Linked DNA regions of Homo sapiens: all the other regions are linked to region 2. Evidence: promoter capture Hi-C in human tissues and cell types (Jung and others, 2019). All regions are on one chromosome and are shown on one strand. Each heading gives the region's core, a stretch centred on a gene start or on the middle of the fragment in contact. The rest is flanking DNA. Distances are from core to core; before and after follow the strand shown. Region 1 holds the start of ZRANB1 (zinc finger RANBP2-type containing 1). Region 2 holds the start of CTBP2 (C-terminal binding protein 2). Region 3 has its middle 160 kb from the start of CTBP2. Region 4 has its middle 180 kb from the start of CTBP2.

Region 1 (3,442 bases), core at 828-3,327, 220 kb before region 2:
ATTTTATCATCTTTTCCCTTTTAGTAATAGAGTAATACAGGTAGGAATTAACTTAGCACTGCCAAATTAATAGTAATATTAGAACTGTGTACACAGCACAGGGTTAAGGTTATATAGAAAAATGTCTCATCCATGTTTAATTTGGCTGACCAGCCCAGTTGATTAGCCAATTTTATTGTTTTGTTAAATTAAAATTCTAAATATAGTTGTCCATTGTTAAAATAAGTGAGTAGGGTTAAAATAGAGAATTGATAAAAATAAAGCCTTAAAAATCTTTTAGCTAAAGTAGCAGGCTTCAAGTGAAATTCAGTTTTGGTCTCCTTTACAGGAATAGCTATTCAGTCAGACAGAACCACTTATCACGTTTTGCAGTATCTCCTGAGGAAGTCAGAATTCTGAGCCAGCATGAAGACGGAATCTTGTCTTTGATCTGATTTGCAAACCGTACTTTTATTCTAATCATGTGCAAGGTGGAGGTTATAGCGTGGGAACTAAAATCTTAGTAAGTGTGGTTTTTATTTTAGCTATTAAGTAGTATACTTTCTTATAGTGATTTTTTTTTCTTCTTAGCAGAGTTCACACTATAAATGGTGTATGGACTTGGCAGGCAGGAACATAATACAGTATACTTCAAAAGTGAAAGATTTAGGCCAGGCGTGGTGGTTCATGCCTGTAATCCTAGCACTTTGGGAGGTCGAGGTGGGTGGATCACGAGGTCAGGAGTTCATCAAGAGAAGCCCGGCCAAGATGCTGAAACCCTATCTCTACTAAAAATACAAAAATTAGCCGGGCATGGTGGCATGCACCTGTAATCTCGGCTACTTGGGAGGCTGAGGCAGGAGAATCGCTTGAACCTGGGAGGTGGAGGTTGCAGTGAGCTTAGATTGCACCACTCCACTGCATTCCAGCCTGGGCAAAACATAGCAAGACTCCATCTCAAAAAAACAAAAATGAAAACAACAACAACAAAAAAACAAACAAACAAAAGATTTAACCCTCTAGGTTCAGGAAAAATCCCTGAGAAAGAGAGAGCAAAGCTTCTATACTCTGCCTAGGATTTCTTTCTCTTTCCGGGTGAAAAATAGGTGTTGGGATGATACTGAGTTGATAAAAGTATTTAGGAAAAGTGGCCAGTGTCTAAATTCAAGCCATTAAAAAAAAAAAAATTAAATTTGTTATGTAAGTTGCTTCATTTATGAATTAGTTGCCATTAAATTATGAAGTCTTTCTTCATTATAGTGTAGTGTTAGCCCATTGTTGAATCCTAGAAATCTTTTAAGTAGTGTGAATATCTTTTAAATATGAATTGGATTTTTTGGGGGGCAGGGGATGGAGTCTCACTCTGTCACCCAGGCTAGAGTGCAGTGGTGCGATCTTAGCTCACTGCAACCTCTGCCTGCCGGGTTCAAGCAGTTCTCTGCCTCAGCCTCCTGAGTAGCTGGGATTACAGGCACCTACCACCATGCACGGCTAATTTTTGTATTTTTATAGAGACGGGGCTTTACCATCTTGGCCAGGCTGGTCTTGAACTCCTGACCTTGTGATCTACCCGCCTCAGCCTCCCAAAATGCTGGGATTATAGGCTTGAGCTACTGCCCCCGGCCATGAATTAGATTTTGAGTATATTTTAAATATTCAAAATTTAAAATATTTTAATTATGAACATTCACAATTATATTGGAATGATTATGCTACTGGTTATTTCAGTGACCTTCCACAGATTTAATTTTCCCCAGTACAGTCTTCTTTTTTTTACTCCAGATAGAACTAGATTTTGAGGCTACAGATTATCAAGGAACTACCTATTTCATAATGTTACTTTGTTAATTGTAGCCATTACTTCTCAACATGTTTCTTTACTACCTGTGCTAATTAAGAACAGTGGATAATTAGCATTTTAAGTTGCTTTTCTCCCTTAGCGAGAATGATAAAATAGACGTTGCTTGATCTTCTGAATTCATGAATCATAATCTGTGTTCATAATTTGAGAATGGTTATGTGTTTAAGCTATTTTTTAGTTTGTGTTGTTTCCTCTACCTTTGTCTCTTTAAACTATTGGTTACTTTTCTAAATTGATGTGATGGCCTCCCTGAAATTAAACATTTCTATTAGTGGCTTCCCGTTAATCTCATCCTTCTTAGATCAAACCTCGTTATATCTCCTGCCTATCTCTTTTGCATTCCAAAGTTCAGTTTTATTAAATCCCAGGGTCTAAGATTTTTTCTTTGAGAATTTATCTCCAGTGTTTCTATGGAAATTAAAAAAGAAAATTAGGATAATTCAATGTCGAAATGTTGCATGCATCTTTTGAGAAATTTATATTTTGTAGGTTGAAGGACTTGCTTTTTGGGCAGCGTATTTTTGGAGGTGGAATGTAGTTATTTTAATAACCATGTCCTAATTATTTATAGCTTCCTGCCTGACACAGCTCACTTCAAGAAGTGCACAATGTCAGAACGTGGAATTAAGTGGGCTTGTGAATATTGTACGTATGAAAACTGGCCATCTGCAATCAAGTGTACTATGTGTCGTGCCCAAAGACCTAGTGGAACAATTATTACAGAAGATCCATTTAAAAGTGGTTCAAGTGATGTTGGTAGAGATTGGGATCCTTCCAGCACCGAAGGAGGAAGTAGTCCTTTGATATGTCCAGACTCTAGTGCAAGACCAAGGGTGAAATCTTCGTATAGCATGGAAAATGCAAATAAGTGGTCATGCCACATGTGTACATATTTGAACTGGCCAAGAGCAATCAGATGTACCCAGTGCTTATCCCAACGTAGGACCAGGAGTCCTACAGAATCTCCTCAGTCCTCAGGATCTGGCTCAAGACCAGTTGCTTTTTCTGTTGATCCTTGTGAGGAATACAATGATAGAAATAAACTGAACACTAGGACACAGCACTGGACTTGCTCTGTTTGCACATATGAAAACTGGGCCAAGGCTAAAAGATGTGTTGTTTGTGATCATCCCAGACCTAATAACATTGAAGCAATAGAATTGGCAGAGACTGAAGAGGCTTCTTCAATAATAAATGAGCAAGACAGAGCTCGATGGAGGGGAAGTTGCAGTAGTGGTAATAGCCAAAGGAGATCACCTCCTGCTACGAAGCGGGACTCTGAAGTGAAAATGGATTTTCAGAGGATTGAATTGGCTGGTGCTGTGGGAAGCAAGGAGGAACTTGAAGTAGACTTTAAAAAACTAAAGCAAATTAAAAACAGGATGAAAAAGACTGATTGGCTCTTCCTCAATGCTTGTGTGGGTAAGTTTCTGTATTCTGCATTTTTTGCGTGGGATGGGAAAAGGTAGTAAAAATGATATGAAAAGAGCTGGGTGCGCTGACACACGTTTGTGGTCTTAGCCACTTGCTTGAAACCAGGAGTTTGAGGCTGTAGTATGCCATGATCGGTCTGTGAATAGCACTTGCACTCCAGCTTGGGTA
Region 2 (3,048 bases), core at 549-3,048:
TCTGCAGCCAACTGCCGCTTGGGCCGCCTCCGGAAAAAGTACCGGGCGGGGGGAGGGGGGACAACCACAAACACTCGCGCGCACACGCTCACTCCGTGTCCGCGACCGTCGTCGCCGGCGGAAAGCGAGCCACGGGAGGGAGTGTGTGCGCGCGTGTGTGTCTCGGCGCGGCCCGCGGTGACCGAGCTGAGCTCTTGGGCCCGCGGCCTCCGAGCCCCAGGGCGCGGCGTGGGCTGCAGGCGACCCGCCACGCCGCTGGGCCTCCCGCGGGAGAAAGGCCCAGGCACGCCCCGGCTCCCGCGCGCCTCTGCCCAACTCGCCCGGGGCGCTGGGGGCAGCGCGAGGGAGAGAAAGAAAGGCGCTTCCCCTCGGCCGCGCGGGGCCGTCCGGCGCCGCGGAGGGCTGGGAGGAGGAGGAACCGCGGCGGCCCGGCTGTCCCTGCGCCGCACCGGGTCCCTGCCGCCCGGGGCGCGCCCTAGCCAGCCCCTCCTGCTAAACTTTTTCTTTTTGATTCGCCCCACCCGAAAAGTGCGGCCCGGGCGGGGAAGGTGGGGGAGGCGGGCGGGCCGGGCTCCCGGCGGCGGCGGGCGAGGAGGAAGTGGTGCCCGCGGGAGCGCGGCCGGGCAGAGGAAATGCCCGGCCCGCCCGGCCCCCGCCCGCGCCCGCCGCCCGGCCCGCCCAGGCCCCCCGCCCCGCCGCGACTTTGGCGGGCCGAGCCCCGCGCGGCAGTGGCGGCGGCGGCAGCGGCAGCAGATGTGGCCCGGCTGCCCGGAGGAGCCAACAATGCGGGGCCGGCAAAACAAAAGGGTTCCACTTCGCCTCCTTTCCCGTCTTTCACTTGCGCTCCCGGGGAGCCGCGCGGGATCCCCCGCCGGCAGGGGCAGCGCCCCTGGGGACCGAGAGCCGCTCACGCCCCGACTTCCCCACGGAACCCCTCTTCTCCGCGCCCCCCCCACCCTCGCCTCGTAGGCGCAAGGCCCGCCGCACCCCGGCGCGCTCGGACTCCTGTTCCCCGGAGATCCGGCCGTATTGTCCCCGCGGCGCGTCGCGCGCTCGGCCTGGGTCGCCGGCGGCCCCCGGGCGCGCACCCACCGGGCTCAGGGAGCAGGAGCCGGGGGCGCCCAGGGAACCGTCGCCGAGACGCCGCCGCCGCCGCCGCCGCTGCCCTCCGGACGCCGCCGCGCTCGGGGTTTCTTTTTTTTTTTTTTTCAACCCTGATGGGAAGGAAGGTGACCGCCTACTTCGCATTCATCAACTCTCATCACAACAACAAAAATCCTGGCGCAAACGGCGGCCAGCGGGCGCAATCGGTGGCGGGGGCGGGCGGGGACCCCCGAGCCAGCGTCCACCCCCGGGCGCCGAGGGGGGACACGAGGCCGGGGGCACGGACCAAAGATGTCCTCGGATGCCGGCTCCGCGTCCTTCGCCCTCTTCCTCCTCCTCCTCCTCCTCCCTGAGTGGCGCAGTGAGGCGCGGGCGCGGCGCCCCCAGCCCGCGGCCGCAGGTGAGGCGGGGGCGGCGGCGGCCCCAGCCCTCCCCCGGGGCCCCCCTTACCTCGTCCCGGACGGTCGGCGTCCACGGCGAAAGGCGCCCACCCTGGAGGCGGCGGCGGCGGCGTCTCCCGCCCCTCCCACCCCACCCGGCGGCGGTGGCGGTGGCGGCGGCTGTGCGGCCCCCCCTCAGCGCGGCATGGCTCCCGGTTCGGTCCCTCGCTCCTCGGGCCGCCGCCGGCTCCTCCGGGCCGCTCCCGAGCCACCTTAAAATGACACACGCACACAGGGACACACACACAAAAACTTAATCTCTCCAGCTCCCCGCCCCTCCCCCTCCCGCCCTCCCCACCCTCCCTCCGCTCCCCTCCCCTCCCCACCCTACCCCTCCCTTCCCTTCCACCTCCTCCCCTCGCCGCCGAGCCTCTTCCTACTTCCCCACCCACCCCACCCCCTTCCTCCGCCCACCCGGTTCCCAATTCCCCCCGCGTCCCGGCCCCGCGCCCTCCCGCCCGCCGAGAGGGGGCTGCGCTGGGGGTCCCCGGCCCGGGCCCGCCCCGCGCCGCGCTCACCCCCGAGAGGATGCTAATTCCAACTTGGATCGGGGGAGGGAACGTCCTGGATGCCGAGCGCCTCCCGGCTATTTGCTCTTCTTTATTTGTTTTCTCCTCCGGGGAAGGAGAAGGAAAACGGAGAGAAAAGGAAAGGAAAGAAGCGGCGCTGGCCGCAGCTCCCGGTACCCGCTGGCTGCGCAGGAGCTAGGCGGGAGGCGAGGTGAGGGTCGCCGCTCGCTCACTCCTCGCTCCTGTTTTTGGGGGGGGGGGGCAAAGGCGGGGTCTCTTTTTGCAAACCAATGACACAACCCCACATGGGCCGGCCTCGCCCCCTTCAGATACTCCTCACTACAAATCGGCTCTCTCGGGGGATTAGTGGCTCCGCGAAAGTGCACACAAGCGCGGCGGGCGGGAGGGCCAGGGGCCGGGCGCGGCGGGCACTCCCTAGCCCGGCCCCGCCCGGGAGGCCCTCGGGAGGCGCGGGGGCCTCGGTGGCAGGGGCCGAGGTCCTGTCGCGGTGGCTCGGGGTCCGCTGCTCCCCTGGCCCTTCATCCTCCTCCGCCCCTTCCACGTGGGGTACCGGGCAGCCGGCCACGTGGGGGAACGCGAGCCCCGGGTGGCCCCGGTCCCATGGGGCCCCGCCCAGCCAGCGGCGCCAACCAGCCCCCTTCCCGGCCCCCGGGCTCCAACTTCCTCCTGGTGCCCCGCACCGGCCGCTTCTGCCTTCTCAGGCCCGCGGGGTCAGGCGCGGGCCGGCCACAGGGGGCACTTGCGCTCCCCAAATCCAGATCCGGGAGACCGTGCCGGAGAGGCGGCGACCGCTGTGGGTGCGCAGGGAAGGGCCCTCTGTGCTGCAAGTTGCAGCAGTGCTGTGCCCTAAAAGAAGCAAAACATTCTTACACATTGAAAAAAAAAAAAAAGGTTCCCTCTTGCTGCCTGGATCTCGCCGGGGCATTTGAGAAGCCCTGTGTTGGGTCGGAGCCCCGGGTCTCGAGGAGGGAGGC
Region 3 (3,255 bases), core at 307-2,806, 160 kb after region 2:
AAGGAGTATTACTGAAAAATCAAAGCCCATCTGCCTGTCTTCTGATGGCTTCAGTCGTGACTAGAAGATCCTTGAGGAAATGGCTTTGAGTTGAGTTGTTTGTGTGTATACTGGATACTGAATAGCCTAGGCGAGTGGCCCCATGACAATGGGCTGGTGCTTGATATCCTTATTCTAGCCATGCAGATCCTAGAATGAGCAGCTTCTGTAAGGTGAATGAATGCCAACCAGGTGCTTACAGGCAGTGTGCAGAGAATCTTCCTGTTGTTCTACCTAAGTCCTGTCTGGATGGAAGTGGTTGTAAGTCCTGAGAGGTCTTTGTAATTTAGCTACTGTTTCTCTAGAGCTCAGGCAACCAATATTCATGTCCTACCCTCATGCAGGGCTTGGGTTTTGCAGTGAGGCTTTTGCTGCTCCAACTTTTCAGCATCTGACATTCAAGTCCATCCTGATCTTACCAATGATACTTTGCCTTAATGGATTTTGACCATTTTACTCTCAGATTTTTTTTCTTTCTAGACCAGAGAGGCCCCAAACTAGCAGCCTGTCCTCCTCAGTAGCCCCAGCATCCCTTCATCATTTTGTTGCCCTTCTATGGGCCTAGTTTAGGTCTGAGAGGCATAGTTTTAAAATTTTTATTGTTATTTATTTATTCTAGAGATAAGGTCTTGCTATGTTTCCCAGGCTGGTCTTGAACTCCTGGCCTCAAGCAATCCTCCTGCAGCAGCCTCCCAAAGTGCTGGGATTACAGGCATGAGCCACCACGTCTGGTCAGACAGGCATAGTTTTACAAATATGTGGGTGGATAAATGCTGTCCAGTCTTACTTCATCACTTCTATCAATTGAATGCTTTTGGTTGGAAATAACAGAAAATCCAACTAAAAGTGACTTAAACAAAGGAAATGTTATTATCTCATGTACCAGGAATTCTGGAGGTAGACTGGTTCAAGGGTGGATTAATTAAGCAGCTCAGATATTATCAAAGACCCAGGTGCTTTCTATTTTTCCACTGTGTCATAGCCTCATGTTGCCTATTGTTCGCAGGCTTGTCACCTGATGGTACAGATAGGTGTCCCAGCTCCCTGCTTCTTGGGCAGACACAGCAGCGTGAGCAGGAGAGGAAGAGCCCTTTTCTCCTGTGTGTTTCTTTTTATCTGCAAGGAAAATCTTGCTCAGGAGCTTTCCAGAAGTTTCCCCTAATATCTCAGAGGCAGAATTTCATCACATGCCTACCCCCGACTGATCCAATAGCAAGGAGAATGGATGAATAGTTTAGACTAATTAATAGTTAACCTTCTGAACTGTCTGCCTGAAGTACATTGCCATCTTATTTTCAAGAAAATTGGGGTTTGTTAGCAAAGTGAGTGGGAAGTCATAGTTGTAGTGCAAGCAGCGAACCGTGTCTGCAATTCTAAACGTCTCCATCACAGCAGTGCACTTAAGAAACATGCCCATACTGAATTGAATAATGAGAACACATGGACACAGGAAGGGGAACATCACACACCGGGGCCTGTTGTGGGGTGGGGGGAGGTGGGAGGGATAGCATTAGGAGATATACCTAATGTAAATGATGAGTTAATGGGTGCAGCACACCAACATGGCACATGTATACATATGTAACAAACCTGCACGTTGTGCACATGTACCCTAGAACTTAAAGTATAATAAAAAAATAAAAAGGAAACCATAAAAAAAAAAAAAAGAAACATGCCCATACTGATTCCCAGGGAATCAAGAATTAAGCTGTCTCAAGATCTTCGTGTTACACCAGAGATACTGTTGATTCCTTACATTTCCAAAGGTATCTTTATTCGCCCTCACATTTCACTGACAGTTTGGCTATGCATGGACTTCTCGGCTCCAAAACAATTTCTAAGAACTTTAAGACCTTTTCCCACCATCTTCCACGATTTACTGTGTCTGAGTTCAGTCTGACTCTCAAGGTTAACCAGGTAAAATGCTTTTTTCTCTCTGGAACAGTGTGGAATTTCCTCTTTATCTCTAGAGTTCTGAAATGTCACCAAAAATATCTAGGTGTGGACCTTCTTTCACTTGTCCCCTGGGCACTGCTTTCACTTTTATTTACTCTCTTTCCTCTGCTTCTGGAATGCTAACTAAATGAATATTTTACCTTTTGGGTCTATCATACTTATTTCTTTTTTTCTGATTTTCTGTTTGTCTCAGCCATAAATTGTGTAAGTTTTCCTTGGCTAGATCTTGTAGACCAAGGGTCTGTAAACTACAGCCAATGGGGCACATCTGGCCCACTGCCTATTTTTGTATGACCCTTGAGTTAATAATGGATTTTAAATGGTTGACTCTCTCCTGCCATCCATGTTTCTCTGCTGGCCACATGAAGAAGTGCTTGCTTCCCCTTTGCCTTCTGCCACGATTGTAAGTTTCCTGAGGCCTCTCCAGCCATGCCTCCTGTACAGCCTGCAGAACTGTGAGTCAATTAAACCTATTTTCTTTATAAACTTAAAAGAAAAGTTGAAAAAAATAAAAGAAATAATAATGCTTCATGGCAGGTGAAAATTACATGAAATTCAAATTTCATAATTAATCTATAAAGTTTTGTTGAAACACAAGCCATGCCCATTTATTTACATATTGTCTATGTTCGCTCCAAAGGCAAAGTTGAGTAGCTGTCCAGAGACTGTATGACCCACAATGCCTAAAGTATTAACTATCTGGTCCTTTACAGAAAAAGTTTGCTGATCCCTATTCCAGCCTATCAGTCTGAGGTTTAGCCATGCTCATTGTATTATTCCGGTGGTCCACTGAATTTTTTTTGCATAATAACTTTTTTTGAGACAGGGTCTCACTCTGATGCCCAGGCTGGAGTGCAGTGGCATGCTCATGTTGCACTGTAGACTTGACCTTCTGGGCTCAAGTGATCCTCCCACCCCAGTCTCCCTAGTAGCTGTGACTACAGGTGTGAACCACTACGCCTGGCTAATTTTTGTATTTTTTGTAGAGATGGGGTTTTCCAATGTTGCCCAGGCTGGGCCTCAGCCTCCCAAAGTGCTGGGATTACAGGTGTAAGCCACCACACCTAGCCCATAATATTTTTAATTTCTGAAAGTTTTTGTTTTTTGGCTATTATTTTATCAAATGGATCATTTTGTTATGAGTTTAATATATGTTTTTATTTAAAGTAAGCTTTCTGCACAAATACTAAAAAGGACATAAATTATAATTATAAAACTCAATAAATTTTCACAAAGTGAACATATCCATAGAGTGGTTTC
Region 4 (2,946 bases), core at 115-2,614, 180 kb after region 2:
TGGCCAGAACCTGGCTACATGTTGACTCCTAGACACTCATTGGTAGAAGAGAATGGAATTTATTAGGATTGGTTAAGATCAGTTATAGTTGATTCCCTGGGGCTGAGAGGGGCGTGCCATTCCTGATGTCATAGGATCTCTGCCTGCTACCTAAGCTGCAAATGTGGAGAACTGCTAGCAGGAAAAAAGGGAAATTCTTTTGGGTTAGTCTATGGAGAATATCCACTTGGTATGTCTAGCTGTGGTCTTTTTCACTATCATGCTTTTAATTTGAAGTCTCGCTTCTCCTTTTTGCTCTAGGAATTTTTTCCCTCATTATTTCTTTGGTCTTCATCCTTTCTGCTTTTTCTAGTCTCTCTTTCTAGAACATTTTAAAATGAATATTGGATCTCCTGGATCAACCTTTTCTATTTATTAACTTTTCTCTTGAACATCCTATTTCTCTGCCCTTTTTTCTCTTTATTTCACAAGATTTTCTTGGCATCATCTTCTATCCCTTGTCTTTTTATTCCATTTTTATTTCATTTATTATATTATTTCAGCTCTATTTTGGTTACGTATCTGTAATTCTTGTTCTTTTTTAAAAATTATATCTTTTTCTTATTCTAAAGAAACACTATAATCTCAAATCTCTTGGAGGATATTAGAGGGTGTTTTAAAAAACTCCTTGTCTATTTCTTCAGTTGTCTCTGTTTCTTGCAGAGTCATTTTTGCTGATGTTGTTGTTTATTTATCTTTCTCTTTCGTAGTCCGGATTCTCCTCTCACGTCTGGTATATTTAAAGATAAGAAAATGCAAATGCCTACTTGGGGCCTGAGGCACATTTAGGGCTTGTTGACCTGAAGGCTCAGCATTCACTGGGGTGCAGGGGACCGAGGGCCAACTTCCAGGATGGGTTGGTCCCATGCACCAAGTGAGGAGGCCTCTGTTCTGGGCCAAGAGCGCTCTCACTAGCTGCCTTGGTTCACCCTAGAGTTTTACATAGATTTGTTCAGAGAAGAACTCTAGGTTTTCCTCCTAGGTAATGATGTCTGGCTGACCACAGATGGGCCTGCAGAGAATGGGATGTGTGAGTGTGTATGGGCTGGACCATTCAGAATAGAGGCTTTTAACAAATGCCCAACTTCTCACTGCTGCCCACTGGAGATCTGCAGTTTTCAAGTCTGCAGACTCTGGGGACACTTCTGGGCAGACTGACCTCTTCTGTGCACAACTCCTGTCTAGGATCCACCTGTCTTTGCTCTGTTTCAGCAGCCAGGACTCCCCGATCACCTTTACATCATCTGGAAATTGGTTCAAATCATGTATTCTCTGATGGTTTCCTTTGTTTTATTTTCTTTGGTGTGGGCTCCTACATTTAAAAAATTCCTTTTCCTTTACTCTTATTTTAATGGAGTCTCAGGAGAAAGGAGACAAATGCTAGGAAGCAGTCTGCAATCTTGACCTGGGGGGATAATGTCGAGGTTTTCTTTTAAATTGATTCATTACTCTTTTTTAATTAAAAAAAAATTTTTTTTGAGATAAGGTTGTGCTCTGTCACCCAGGCAGGAGTGCAGTGGCGTGATCATGGCTCATTGCAGCTTCAGTCTCTTTGGCTCAAGAGCTCCTCCCACTTCAGCCTCCTGAGTAGCCGGAACTACAGGTCCATGCCTCCAGTTGGCTAATTTTAAAAAGTTTTTTTGTGGAGATGGGAGTCTCACCACCTTGCCCAGGCCAGTCTCAAACTCCTGGGTTGAGGTGATCCTCCTGCCCTGGCCTCCCAAAGTGTTGGGATTACAGTTGTGAGCCACCACATCCAGCAAACCTTAATTTTTTATTGTAAAATACACCATAAACTTTATCACGTTAATCATTTTAAGCGTATAGTTTAGTAGCATTAAGTGCATTCCCACTGTGTGCAACCAATCTCCAGAGCTCTTTTTATTTTACAAAACTTCAGCTCTATGCCTATTAAATAACAACTCCCTGCTCGCTGCTCCCCTCAGCCCCTGGCAACCATCATTCTACTTTCTATCTGTAGGAATTTACAACTTGAAGTACCTCATGTAAGTGAAACCATACGGAATTTGCCTTTTTGTGGCTGGCTTTTTGGAGAGCATATGGTCCTAAGGTTCATATATGTCACAGCATGGGTCAGAACGTCCTTCCTTTTAAAGGCTGAATAATATTCCATTGTGTGAATAAACCACATTTTGTTCATCCACTTATCCGTGGAGGGAAGCTTGAGGTGCTTCCACCTTCTGGCTATCGTGGGTAATGCTGCTATGAATGTGGATGCCAGTATTGTTGAGTTTTAAAAGGCCTGTAGCATAGGAGACCCCCCAGCCACTAAACCCAAAGCAGATGTATTTGTACGTAAATTTCCCATCGCACTGGAATTAAGATGCTATAGTCACATTGTCTTCCACAAAATACTCTCATGTTTAGAGTTTTACTTGACACACTTCTTCTGGGTCCATTATTATAACCAATGAGGTAGTTAGAGTAGATAGCATTATTTTTGTATCGCAGTGAAAAACTTCGAGCTACAAAGAGGTTAAGTGACTTGCCTAAGCTAATAAGTAGAACAACTAAAAGTACTGAATAATTTTATCAGCCTGAAAGACATTGCTGAACGTGTTTGTTTACATCAACTCTATTGTGGGCTGACTATGGAGACAGGGCCACAGAATGATGATCTCTAATCTAGTAAATTTAATGCAACTTCTCCTAACAGATAAGCCGGGTTGACATGGTAAATTTTATGTGAAAAAGAGAAATCTGTCTGAAGCTCTGGCAGCCAAGATAAGACAGAATAGCAGATATGATTTAACTATTAAAATTACAGAGATTTGTTCCTCTTTATTTTTCGTGGAGGGAATCAAGGTAAATGTTCTTGGGTTGTTGGCAGTATTTCTTCCATTTGTACATTCCTTCTAAACATGAACATTATGTTGTTTATTCATC

The links. The method cuts DNA at HindIII sites, captures the fragments that hold promoters and counts their contacts. A contact is called where the count stands out against the background at its distance.
Region 1: a contact is called between the fragment with the promoter of ZRANB1 here and the fragment with the promoter of CTBP2 in region 2, in 1 of the 25 tissues and cell types used here (adrenal gland).
Region 3: a fragment that was not itself captured here is called in contact with the fragment with the promoter of CTBP2 in region 2 in 1 of the 25 tissues and cell types used here (spleen).
Region 4: a fragment that was not itself captured here is called in contact with the fragment with the promoter of CTBP2 in region 2 in 1 of the 25 tissues and cell types used here (stomach).

What each region holds. Positions count from the first base shown.
Region 1 is chr10:124,940,046-124,943,487 of GRCh38, forward strand. ZRANB1 (zinc finger RANBP2-type containing 1) reads left to right here and starts at 2,078. Exons shown (of 9, transcript NM_017580.3): 1 at 2,078-3,262. The coding sequence starts at 2,449. The HindIII fragment of the contact is 6,128 bases long and covers 1-3,442 here.
Region 2 is chr10:125,158,765-125,161,812 of GRCh38, forward strand. CTBP2 (C-terminal binding protein 2) reads right to left here and starts at 1,799. Exons shown (of 11, transcript NM_001329.4): 1 at 1,555-1,799. RefSeq lists an enhancer at 2,570-3,048. The HindIII fragment of the contact is 19,174 bases long and covers 1-3,048 here.
Region 3 is chr10:125,315,681-125,318,935 of GRCh38, forward strand. No RefSeq gene overlaps it. Among named protein-coding and RNA genes, the nearest start is that of CTBP2, 160 kb to the left of the region's middle. The HindIII fragment of the contact is 4,069 bases long and covers 1-3,255 here.
Region 4 is chr10:125,341,094-125,344,039 of GRCh38, forward strand. No RefSeq gene overlaps it. Among named protein-coding and RNA genes, the nearest start is that of CTBP2, 180 kb to the left of the region's middle. The HindIII fragment of the contact is 7,936 bases long and covers 1-2,946 here.